4 separate regions of the Homo sapiens genome follow, and regions 1, 2 and 4 are each linked to region 3. The links are contacts of gene promoters, found by promoter capture Hi-C in blood cells and fetal thymus (Javierre and others, 2016). All regions are on one chromosome and are shown on one strand. The core of a region is centred on a gene start or on the middle of the fragment in contact, and the rest is flanking DNA. Distances in the headings are between cores, read along the strand shown.

Region 1 (3,212 bases), core at 88-2,587, 540 kb before region 3:
TTGGACAGCAAATATTTAGAGAAATACTGGAGTTAACGGATAATTGAAGCAAGCACCATGTCTATTCCACCAGTTCAAGAATAAAAGATAATTCAACAACTTACAGATCTAATTGAAATGCATTCTCAAACTGCATTCACATGACAAAAGTGTGAAGAATTTGCACTGAAGTGTTGAAATCTAATCCTAAGAACTAACCGTATGAAATATTTGCTAATTCACTAATCAGGGTTCATAATCTTCAGACTTTTTTAAACGACTCCTCTCAAGGCACCCTACTATGCCCTAGTAATGAATGTTAACTGTTTTTACTCTTCTAGTGCATTCTAAATAAATTCCACTAAAACTTGGCTTCTCCTTTTTTCTCAATCAAGCTCTCTGTGATCATGATCAATCATCCCAGAACTAGAAGGGCAATGGGCTTTCACATCTGTCTCAGTAAGTTAAACATTTTTCAAGACTATCCCAGTTGGGTCCATTTTATCTAGCAAGTTTGTGTACTGACGGCAACATTTCCTAAAACTTCACATTTACCCTGTGAGTGATACGTATGCTAGGGGCTGGTGAGGTCAGGAGTGGGAAGAGATGGGACAATATGTGCTCAAATGTGTTTGGGAAATTCTGTGGACAGTCAGAAGATACATTATAAGCATATTAGTTTGAGAAGTGTTGCAGAAAAGAACGATGTTTAACTGTTTTTCCAAATAGTATTTAAGTACAGAACACATTTTCCACAGTCCACCTACTTAACAGTTTGGGAATGCTGGCCTAGGGATCTTTGCAAAGAAAACCAGTCCTTAGTCAATCATCCAAAATTGTACAATGAAAGGGGATTTGATACTTCATTAGGAGCTTAAACTCCTTTTCCTTATAATAATGATTCAGAGAAAGGAACAAGCTGAGATTTTTCCCTTAATTCAGGCTGCAGTTTACAAAGATGAATACTCCTTGCATTGCAAGGAGACTATTCCTGAACTTGCTGTGAATACCATGAAAAGAGCTCCACATTTTGTTTATATTACAACCGCCTCTGCTCTTTTTTTTCTTTTTTTAGAGGCAGAGTCTCATTCTGTTGACCAGGCTGGAGTGCAGTGGCACTATGCCAGCTTACTGCAGCCTCAACCTCCCAGGCTCCAGGGATCCTCCCACCTCAGCCTCTCAAGTAGCTAGGACTAAAGGCGCATGCCACCACACATAGCTCAAGCAATCCTCCCGCCTCAGCCTGCCAAAATGCTGGCATTACAGGCATGAGCCACTGTGCCCAGCCTCCTCCACTCTTCTAAGCAAAAGCAAACCCATGCCTTGAATGTTACAGGTAGGGAAGTTTGGGAAAAATTAACTTCATTCTAAATGCTGGATTTTCATCATTTGAGAATATCTGTCCTCTAATTGTGGTTGCAATGTTGTCAGTTACATATTCTTTGCATATTAATTGAAGGTGAGTTAGAGTGGAAGCAATTTTTATTAGTCTCAACCTTTGTGATAGCTATTTAAAAATCACTTCTAAAGGGAAAAAATATAGAAATGTCCAAACCAAATCAAATCAGCTTAATGTTAAAATAAGATTCTAAGTAACAAAAAAGCCCTTCCAGAAGAATTTTAATAAGATATGATGCTAAGTACATCCCAGTAGATAATTCTCCCCACTCCCAAGTATCTTTCCTGAACAGTCCCTTTTTCTTAACCACATGCACTAGCCACACAAATGTGTGTCCAGGAATATCCAAAGTTAGAAAATGTATTCTAGGCTGGGCGCGTTGGCTCATGCCTGTAATCCCAGCACTTTGGTAGGCTGAGGTAGGAGGATCACTTGAGGCCAGGAGTTCGAGACCAGCCTGGCCAACATGGTGAAACCCCATCTCTACTAAAAATGCAAAAATTGGCCAGGCGTGGCAGCACACACCTGTAATTCCAGCTACTCCGGAGGCTGAGGCACGAAAATCGCTTGAACCTGGGAGGCAGAGGTTGCAGTGAGCCGACTTCACGCCACTGCACTCCAGCCTGGGTGACAGAGTGAGACTCTGTAACAAGAAAAAACAAAAAGTATTCTAAAGAACTCTGAAGGTTTCAAATATGTGTATCTATCTTCTGTTCAGCCTGTTTCTGTCATTTGTAGATATACTTATCCCACTAGGCTCTATCTCACATGGTTCAGAAGAATAGAAGACAATGTTGCCAAATTATTCAGAGAGAAGTGCTGAGTTCCAGAGCTTGTTTAAAAAAAAAGTGAGCTCAGAGATGAAGTTGTAAAAAGTTCCTTCCAGCACAGAGGAAGAAGATAAACTGAATTAATAAGCTACATGTAATCTAAAATTTTACATGATTATGAACAATGGTGGACCTACACTCAAATAAAATATAGAACAGTTTATCCAATTTCCTAGTAAGTAGAATTCTCTATTAACCTGTTCTTCTGTAAATCAACAGTTCAATGACAAGTGATACTTACAACGATAAGCCTAAAGATACCACAGATTCTGAAGTACTTTCTGAATGTGACTTCCTTGTCTAGTATTTTTAAAGAAGTATTAGTTCACATTTATCTTAATATTCTATAAAAATAATCTCATTCTCTGACCAAGCTGGGCAGGTGTGTTTGCCATTCCTGCCACTACTTCCTCCTATCTCAAACCTATCCCACATACCAATGTAAGATTAATGTTCCCAAAACATCACTTTCATCAAAACAGTGTTCTGCTAAAAAACAAACAAATAACAACTACAAAACCTCCCCCAAATCTCACATCCTCACTATATGCAGAATAAAGCTCAAATATGTTAATTTGATTTTCAAAATCCTCCACAGTCTAAAACCAATTTTTGGTCCAGGTCTTATATTCCACCAATCACATGCGTTAACGCCTCCGATGCAGCAGAGTTCATTTACATGTTTAAAATACACTGTACAGACTCTCATTTTCCATTTTCCTCATATCTAAAAAGTCCCCCATCTTCCTTTTTATTGTTTCTATCTGAATCCAACCAGTCTTTCAATGTCAAGCTTGAGGGCTCTTCCATAGGCCCCTCTCTATCTCAAACAAAAGTGATTTCCTACTTTTCTTATTTCCAATTATCCTTGCAAGCATTCATTCATTGATTCTATTAGCCACACATTAGGTAACTCCTATGCACTAATTAGTATTGTGTTATGATGTTAGGGCTACTAAAATACACAATACTAAGTCCCTACCTCCTCAGGCTCACAGTTCACA
Region 2 (3,208 bases), core at 522-3,021, 770 kb before region 3:
CATCAGCCTTTTTCACTCCTTGATCTGAACTTCAAACTACTCATCCACCCCCAGTGTTTTAAATTCGCTACCTGGGCTGACAACTACGGGGCCGGGAGATATAAATTTAGCCTAATCAGTCGCCCCTTCTGAGACCTAGGAATTTTGAACCATTAAAAAGATTTCCTACAGATGGCTGGCGGTCTTGCCACCAACACGTATTTTGAAGTATTGTTTCAAAAGTAGACGCCTGATTTAGAGTACTTGATTTAGACATTCACGGATTCAAATGTTGAATTTTGAAATACTTCCAATATATTTCCGTATTGTATTACATACAGTGTCTACCAGCTGACTGTTGTTCATTCATTTTGGATTACATTTTGGCTAACATGCTACCACTGACCTAAGATACTTAAGCAAAACTGCTGAAAAATGTTTTTAATGCTTTGTGTAGTAGATGCTGATGTTAAATTTTTTTCTCCGATTTGGGAATTTTCCCCGAATTTTGGGAAAAGCATATTAATAAATGCATTATTTTTTCGTTTTAAAAGAAAAATTAATTTCTACATATCACCACCTACCTCAGCAGCAGAATATCAGGGCAGTACATTTTAAAATAACGGTTGGTTTTTGTATTTTATTAGTAATTGTATTAAAATTTTGACATGTAATCAAGTCTGTTTCTAAACAATTGCTTTCTCTTTCCTGTTTCTTTGGCAGTTGGCTTGATCATGTCACTATTTTGGTTAAAAGATGCAAGAAAAAGTTCATGGGCCTTTTGTTTTTGTTGTTTTAACTAAGCAAGAGAAATGAAATCTTGAAACTGTCTTTGGATTTCTTTTGTTTTATATTATCCTATCGGATAATCTGAATTTATATTTTTTATGCAATGTGAGTTTTTTAAAAACAGTTCTTAGGGTAGCTGCATTTTAGCTATAATATTTTTTGGTGCTTGCAGATATTTTAACAGTCATTCAGTTTTTCACATTCAGATAGTGAACTTTTTGCCTGAGAGTTTGAGTACATTTTAAGATTTCACTGGGGTAAAATTTGAATGTTTGCTTACTGTAAGTATACTCATGCTTTAAAGACATTCTTCAGTATAAAGGGGAAGAAAACTGTAGAAGAAAATTTAAAGTTTCTAAATATGTTGCCAGAAAACATGTCATGGAGAAAATTTTACGGATAATTTTTTAATTTTTTCTGTTAATACCTTCATGTGGTAATAGGGCTAGTGTGTTAAGATCGAAACTTTTCAGGAGTTACTTAGCTCTCTATCGTCCTTTGGCACCAACTAGAGCTTAGACAGTTTTCTGGAAAACCTGTGCTTTTATTCAGCAGAGATAGGATGAATCAGTGCAGTTACATGATACTGTTGATTCATCATCAGTAACATCTTTTAGTAATCAGAAAATACAGTACTATACTACCCATCAACTTAATACTGAACTTTTAAAGTATATCAGAGATAGTTGTAGCACCTTAATTAAAGAGAGTAGCAGGCATAAAAGTAATAAAAAGAAAGTCAACTGTAGAATAATTTTCATTGTAACTTCCCTTTAGCAAGCCCTGCTATCACCTGCTTTTGTCTTTTAAGATGTAAATTGTACCTTGACTTACCTTGCCCAGTGAAATAAACTTAAAATCCAGATTTTTAATTATACTCTGTCCCCCAAAATAAGTTAATAACCTTGCACCTTGTCTTGCTTCTGAGCAGTAATAACTGTTAGTAGTGCTGAGTAGAGCCCAGAGTTAAAATATCCAGTATCATTCTCTTGCTATTCCCAAAACTCATCTTTGCATTGTATTTTTTTAAGTTGTGTCTATGAACTTAATGTATGAAATCCTAGTACATAGACACATAAAAATTCAATACATAACGTAAAAACACAACCACTATTTTGCTTTCAAAAATATCTTCCTAAAAAGTCACTGTGACCTTTGCTGATCTACAGTCTTTAACACTCCATAGCCAGAGTGATCCTGATAAAATGTCAGGTCATGTAACTTCTTTTCTCAAATGGCTTCCCTTCTCAGTCATAGTAAATTCCATACTCCTATGGTCTACAAGGCTCTATGATTTAAGTCTCTTCTTCCTCTCTGACTTCATCTCCTCACCCTTTCTCCAATCTCCTTTCCCCTACGCTGTTGTGGTCTTCTCTAACTACTGTGTATAAAACAACAGCCTTCCCCCGATATTTTGTATCTGTTTTTATGCTAGATTTTTCTCCATTGCATTTATCATTTTGCAACATATTGTGTAATCTAACTTAGGTTTATTGTTTATTTTCTTCACTGTGATTTATCTTCTGTGAGATCAGCATTTGTCAGTATTTGTCACCTAAACACCTGAACAATGCCTTCAGTGTAAGTTAATGAATTAACCTGCTTTCAGCTGTAAACGTTACAAATAGTGATTGTGGTTTGAAACTTTAGACTAAGCAAGTCTCAGTCTGTAGCATAAACTGCCAAGTTACTTATATCCATGCATGTGGGCCATGTTCATTTCAGGGGTCCTTGTTTTTTGTTGTTGTTTGTTTTGTTTTTGCTTTCAGATAGCATCTCGCTGTCTCCCAGGCTGGAGCGCAGTGGTGTGATCACAGCTCTCACTTTGGTGCCCAGGCTGGTCTCAAATTCCTGGGCTAAGTAATCATCCCGCCTTGGCCTCCCAAAGTGCTGGGATTACAGGAATGAACCACCACACCCAGCCTAAGGGGTCTGTGTTTTTAGAGGAGTATAACAGTATGTGACCTTGAAACTATCATTTGTCTTAATATAGAAGGAGCTAAGAATGCCTCAGCTAAGAGTAGAGCAGTGCATTAGCCTGATTTCATGCTGCTGACATACCTGAGACTGGGAAGAAAAAGAGGTATAATTGGACTTACAGTTCCACATGGCTAGGGAGGCCTCAGAATCTTGGTGGGAGGAGAAGGGCACTTCTTACATAGTGGTTGGTGGCAAGAGAAAATGAGGAAGATGCAAAAGCGGAAACATCTGTTAAAACCATCAGATCTTGTGAGACTTGTTCACTACCATGAGAACAGTATGGGGGAAACTGCCCCCATGATTCAAATTATCTCCCAACAGGTTGCTCCCACAACACGTGGGAATTATGGGAATACAATTCAAGAGAGATTTGGGTGGGGACACAGCCAAACCATATCAAGCAGTATAACTATCTTATTGTTAAAAATGTTGTCATTTAGAAGCCATATTAATTTCTTAT
Region 3 (3,111 bases), core at 566-3,065:
AGCTTCTGCCCTTATTTACTTACAATACTCATTATAAACAGTGCAGCTCACCATAAAAGACAATAATACTTTCCTGGGAAACAGACTGTGTCAATTTTATTGTAACTTTTTAAATTTCACTCCTATATTTTTATGTAATCATCAGGTACTACTTAATCTTGCTAAACAGTAGTAACAGCCAGAGTGACCCAGTGGTAAGAGCATTAATCTTCACTGGTTTTACAAGTCAGAAAACCTGGGTTTGAAAGTGTGAGAAGCTGGGCAGACCAACCTGTGCGCTTCAGTTTTCTCTCCTATAAAAACTACTACTATTTGCTCTCTCCTTAAAGATGAATAACTAGTAAATTGTTCTTAAATGAATGAATGAAATGTGAAACTAAATCATGGAGTGTAATCTCCTCTATTCGATTTGTCCCTGGACAACCAAGAAGTTACCAAATTTTTTTGATCGAAATATTCCGTGCCCAAAATGTAACAGAAATAAAAACCACACCCAACTCCTAAAATTAAGTTACTTTTAAAGTTATTAGATAACAACAGGGCTTTAGAACATCAGCAGGATGTTCTGCTTTAAAATTGATTTGGCATCCAGGAGACTAAGCCGAGTCGCCACAACAGACTGGCTTGGTAATTTAATTAGAGTCTTCTGGAGGGACACATTATATCATCATCCCCCGACAGTGTTCTCTTTAGGGACCTGATTTTCTCTCTAGTCCTCTCATTCCTTTCCCCTTCCTCACCTCCTCTCATCCCTTTTGTTTGCCCTTTTTTTCTTTTTTTGCTCTTAAAACAGCTCTCCCTCCGTTCGTCTTGTCACTTCCATGCATTTTTAACTCTAACTAGAAATGGGTCACCCCAGGTTTGCTCCCCAAGCCCCAGGGCCCCTCAGGACGAGTGAAAAAGGCCCTGCGGTCCTCCCTGCCTGGGGGAATTCCTCCTCCGATCACAGCTCCGGTGGGCTCCGCAGATGGGAAAGGGTTTCCAGCGCGCGCCTAGCGGCCACAAATCACTTCCCGGGGCCGCCCCGCCAGGCCTCAAACCTCCCAGAGCCGTCGGTCGGCTTTTACTTTAACGAGGATTCAGATGGGTCACACCCTGTCCTCCAAATGCGGGCCTGCTCCCCGGACCCCGCCCAGGGGGCTCGCCCCAGTGCCGAGGCTCCTGGGCAACCCTAGCACTCTGCGAGTCGGGGAAGTGACCCCAAAGTTGCTTCTGAGTGGAGACTTCCGCACGCAGAGGCGTCCCCGCAGCTGCCAGGCTTTTCAGGGGCAGCATCCCCCGCCCGTCAGGAGCCTGTCCTCGGGGCCACCACGCGCCCCGCGCCTCAGCCCCGCAGGGGCCGCACCGGGGCCTCAGTCTGCAAGCAGCCGGGGACAGCGGGCTTCCTCCCCTGCCCGGAGCGGCCGAGCGTCTCGGCCAACCTCCCCCGCGGAGAGCACAGCGCCCCCGCGCAGTCCCCGAACTTCTTCCCGCGTCGGCTCGGGCTCTCGGGTGGGGACGCGGGGACCCCTCGCTCACCGATATCCCCATCGTCGTCGTCCTCCTCCTCCTCCATTTGTAGCAAAACATTCCTGCTCATCTTTTTCATGTCTCCCTCAGAAGGCGGCTCCGAACTTGGCGCGAAGTTGGGGGCTCCCGGGTTCCAGAACGGCGCGGCTCTCCCAGGGGCCGGATCGGGGACCGCGGGGCGTGTGTCGCTTGGGCTCAGGGGCCGCTGAGCCCAGCCAGCGCCGGGGAAAGCCGAGCCGAGGCACCCACCGACCGGAGCCCAGAGCCGGAGGACGCCTCTCGCCTGCCGAGCGGAGCCCGGAGACTGAGCATGCCCAGTGCGGCCGCCGCGGCTCGCTGCGGAATGATTGAACTTCCCCGGTTTTACGAGGCGCGCAGAAGGAAGTCGGCAGGCGAGACTGCAGAGGGAGTAGTGCGATCCTGCGCGCGGGGGAACTAGCTGGAGGGCAAGGCGGGAACACGTGAGTGCGGGAGTGGACTGGGTTCCCTGAGCATTGATCCCAAACAGGGCAGCTTTTCGTTCCAAGGTCGTCTGTGGACACACACTGTGGCTTGCTTTGTTTTAACGTCTGATACTGGAGAGGAGGGAAATGCTGCTGCAGCACAACTGCAGAACCCTGGAAGGCGAACTCGTTTGAATGGCTTTTAAAGGCGACGTGGAGCTAATAATGGGGGGATCTTAAATTACTCTAGCTCCGAAGTGGGAAAGTGGAATCTGTACGGGTAGGTTAAGATTACGGTGGAGTCGGGGTGGGAGGAGAGGCAAAACTCAGAGAATAAGCAAAAGAAGAAGGGGCGGGACGGACGGGAGTGGGGGTGGAGAGAATTTTCTAAATAAACGTGTGCACAAAGGCAGGAGGATTTCCGCATACATTGAGGTCGCGGAGAGTGGAGAAGCGCCCCCTACTCCGCCCGCGCGAGCACACAGGGAGTGGTCGGAAGATAATCGCTGAAGCGTCCAGCCTATTTGTACAATTGAAACTAGTCCTCTGTGTCAAAGAGGGAGAAGAAGCCGAAGACCACTAGAGTTAGATGTAAACTCTTCTAAAGCAATGTGGAAAGCTATAATAAGAGAAAAGAAAGTCGTGAAATAAAATTAAGGCAGAGAGTTTTTATTTTTATTTTTAATGCTTTCCTGGAAACCAAAGGGACCGATAGGACAAATACAAAGGGATTTAGTACTTTAAAGACCCTTGGAGTTGTTTGAACGGCAGGTTTTGGGGATCGCGTGTCTACAAAACTTTTTTCAAAAAAGCTGGTACATTCAGGTTGTTCAATTTTGACTTCTCAAAAGGGCTAGAAGGTATATTTGAAATCTTGGTTATATGTGTTATTGTCTACTCATTGAAATTGTTTATATTTTTTCCACTGAAGTGCTAGGGTTATCACAATAACACTAAATCTACTGTGCATGTTTTTTCTTCCACATACTTTTTTTAAGACGGTCTCGCTCTGTTGCCGAGGTGGGAGTTCAGTAACTAGAACTACAAGCGGAGCACACCACCATGTGGGGCTTATTCTTAAATTTTTTTGTAGAGATGGGTGTCTCACTATGTTGCCCAGGCTGGTTTCGAACTCCTGGCCTCCAGCAATCCTTGCACC
Region 4 (3,279 bases), core at 598-3,097, 740 kb before region 3:
TCTTTTATTGCTGTGATAAAAATAGATATGTTTCAAAGCATGTAAGTGCTTTCACAAATAGAATCAGATTTCAAATTCAGGAGTATGTTTCTTTTTTTCATCATTATAAATTAAGCTCCATCCTCTCATTTCCCTCAGTCTTCTTCCATCTAAAAGCAAAGTTTACAGTTTACTTCGGATTTCAGGATCAGGAATAAGTGTCTTCAGCCTTCTAACAGGCCATGCCTTATGCCTAGGCTGTCATACACATTCTAACATTTAATTTCATTTAATTCACTATGTTAATATTTATTTGCTATACAAGACAAGGATTCTAAACTTACGATTTTTAAGTACGTCAAGGGATAGCCTGACGTTAAAATCTTTTTAAAAAATTGGTTTGTGGTGTACAATTTTATGCATGTTCACTTCTTTTTTTTTTTTTATTTGAGACAGAGTCTCAGTCTGTCACCCAGGCTCTAGTGCAGTGGAACCATCTCGGCTCACTGCAACTTCTGCCTCCCAGGCCAAGCGATTCTTGTGCCACAGCTCCTGAGAAATCTGCATAAGAGAACAGTACAATTTGCAGTTAGGATCATCTTTCTAGATTTCTGTATCTTTCAAAATTTCTGTGCTTTCTGAGATTTGTACCCAAGGTTCACTGAAATATGATTCAGAAGGAATATCAAGCACCAAAAAAGGACTCATTTATTTACTTTCACCTTAATATTTTAGGCATTGAACACATTCTTAAAAACACTGGTCTGTAAGAAACTGGTGTTTTGAAAAATTAAAGTGTGTCGTAGTCTAGTATATTTATTTTGGCCACATAGATCAAAGTTAGTTTCAGTCTTTTCAAGCTCTAAAATTTTGGTTCTGTGGTTATTTAAACAAAAGCTATGTAAGGACTTTAAAGTGATTAAGTAAAAAGTCTTTGGGTATGTCAGAATCCTCTTTACTTAGGGCAAAATGTTTCAGGGTGAACCTGTGGTAGCCTTCATGGCCCATAGCCTAATTGCCTGCCCTTAGGGACACTAGAACAAATTGAAATTAATCATGTCCACTATGATTATATTTAGTTTCAAGGAATTCATAGATGGTAAACCTGTTGATTTATAAAATAATGATGATTATATAGAAATAGAATATTGAACAATGACACAATAATTGACATTAAGGAAGGCTGAAATTTTTGTTAATTTAAACCATAACTGTTAGATCCAACAATCTAAAATTAATCAAAGACATTTGAACTGATGAAATGTATATAGAGCCAGTATGCTAAAGCTTATCATCTATTCAGTTAGGAAGTTATTTATTTTACCCATATTGTGGGCAAAAACAATATATACTTATTGATAGCTTTTAATATATCTGAGTTTGCATACTTTAGGAAGGTAAAGGACAGAGAAGTCTTGACACACATTGTAGTAGTGACAATTATGATTTCCTACAGACAAGATAATCTCCAACACATACAAACACACACAGGTTAAGTAAATGGGATTTATTGGCCAGGCATGATGGCTCACGCCTCTAATCCCAGCACTTTGGGAGGCCAAGGAGGGTGGATCACTCGAGCCCAGGAGTTTAAGACCAGCCTGGGCAACATGGTGAGACCTCATCTCTACTGGGAAAAAAAAAAAAAATTAGCCAGGCATGGTGGAGTATGCCTGTAGTCCCAGCTACTTGGGAAGCTGATGGGGGGAGGTTGGAGGATCACTTGAGCCTGGGAGGTCGAGACTACATTTATCTGTGATTATGCCACTGCACTTCAGCCTGGGTGACAAAATAAGACCCTATCTCAAAAAAAAGAGAGAAAGTAGGAATCATTATTTCCCACAGTTGCCGAGAAGTGATTAAAAATTTGGCCCTTAAAATAAGGTCATGGTTTGAAGACACATGTTTAAAGCATTTAAGAGTTCTTAACAATGTTTAATGGAACCTGCAGTATATGTGATGAGGATGTTCTTGATATCTGCTGGCATTCTTTTCCCTTTTACATAATATAAAATATTTCCCTTATCTTTTAAGTATTATTTTTAAAAATGTGATTAGTTTCCCATTATAAGCAGATTATTCTCCCTCCATTTTATACAAAATCACCCATTTTGTATAAAATGCCAACAGCTTCAGTATGAGAGAGTAAAGGTTAATGAAATCAAAATTCGGCAGTTGGCAAAGGCATGGTTTCTCTCCTAAACTAGAAATGAAGTGTCTTATTAAGGTGACATGCAGTTCTTGAAGAAGTCAAACAATAGTGTTCAACATAGGTGAAGGTTATATTTTTGAATTAATAATAAATACCAAAAAATCAAGATGTGAGTTCTTGACTTATATCTGGACTGCACATGTGTTTTATATACAGGTGTTTCTTTATGCAGTAGGTGGAAATTTGTCCATTCTGGTTGTTAGACTACTTTTAAGTAATATAATTCAGTAAAGCTTTATTATCTGGAATTTTCAATCAATTTTTCCTCAAATTCTAATTTTAAAAAAATTAACCAGAACTAACCCAGACACCTCTGTTATGTAGCTCTCTGTGAACGGTAATGTAAATGTACCTGTGTAGTACCACTAACATTAGTCATTTATAATTTATAAAGTATTGTCAGATACATTTTTTAAATTTATTACGCCTATGCAATAGATGATCAGGGCTCTCTCCATCTTCATCCTTAGTGTGGGTTGGAGTGATTGCTAGCTCCACAAGAACTTTAACTTGTAGCTAATTTTTTCAGATCCACCACTATTTTCACCCTGTGAATTAATCCTTTGGGAAATTTTTTAGTAGAGCAAAGAGGATTTTTGCATTGTGAACACCCATCACCTAAAGCATATATCTAAAAGAATTTAAGTACTCTGTTTACCAGTAAGGTAAATTAACATGCATTTCTTTGTGCCTAGTTTTAAATGTCAGAATATGTAAAATGATCTGTATGGGTAGTTTACTGAGTTTCTTGTTTTTACACTAGATAAAGTGTTGCCTATTGTCAGAATAAATTAAGATTACATGTAATTCTCCCCAACTGGTATCTTGGAGAACATGAAAGGATTTTAAGTAGTTTGATGAAATGTGTTCTTACTGGGGGTTAATTTTATCACTGACAGCCATTTGTCCTTTAGGGATACACTCCTGAATGCTGGTATAAAGAACCACAGTTTCACTAATATGGATTGACAAAGACTGTCTTGAAAGAACTGGTTAAATGTGATAGGGAACATGTAGGCTGACTGCAGGTGAACAATTAATTTGGAAGTACAGGTGAGGTGTCTTAGAACCATAAATGAAAAAAGATA

What was found. Contacts are between HindIII fragments. The CHiCAGO score rates a contact against its expected background, and 5 or more counts as called.
Region 1: a contact is called between a fragment that was not itself captured here and the fragment with the promoter of ANO6 in region 3, in 1 of 17 cell types (fetal thymus). The highest score is 5.4, in fetal thymus.
Region 2: a contact is called between a fragment that was not itself captured here and the fragment with the promoter of ANO6 in region 3, in 1 of 17 cell types (fetal thymus). The highest score is 8.4, in fetal thymus.
Region 4: a fragment that was not itself captured here is called in contact with the fragment with the promoter of ANO6 in region 3 in 1 of 17 cell types (fetal thymus); the score reaches 5.0 in fetal thymus.

What each region holds. Positions count from the first base shown.
Region 1 is chr12:45,754,740-45,757,951 of GRCh38, reverse strand. All of the region lies in intron 3 of ARID2 (AT-rich interaction domain 2), which reads right to left. Among named protein-coding and RNA genes, the nearest start is that of ARID2, 27 kb to the right of the region's middle. The HindIII fragment of the contact is 3,333 bases long and covers 1-3,003 here.
Region 2 is chr12:45,986,563-45,989,770 of GRCh38, reverse strand. The region is part of intron 1 of SCAF11 (SR-related CTD associated factor 11); the gene reads left to right. Among named protein-coding and RNA genes, the nearest start is that of SCAF11, 2.4 kb to the left of the region's middle. RefSeq lists silencers at 54-123, 3,019-3,068. The HindIII fragment of the contact is 7,512 bases long and covers 1-3,208 here.
Region 3 is chr12:45,214,799-45,217,909 of GRCh38, reverse strand. ANO6 (anoctamin 6) reads right to left here and starts at 1,815. Exons shown (of 20, transcript NM_001025356.3): 1 at 1,519-1,815. The coding sequence starts at 1,588. It also overlaps the pseudogene PLEKHA8P1. RefSeq lists enhancers at 810-939, 1,950-2,049 and a silencer at 1,180-1,489. The HindIII fragment of the contact is 6,776 bases long and covers 1-3,111 here.
Region 4 is chr12:45,956,417-45,959,695 of GRCh38, reverse strand. All of the region lies in intron 3 of SCAF11 (SR-related CTD associated factor 11), which reads left to right. Among named protein-coding and RNA genes, the nearest start is that of SCAF11, 33 kb to the left of the region's middle. The HindIII fragment of the contact is 1,158 bases long and covers 1,269-2,426 here.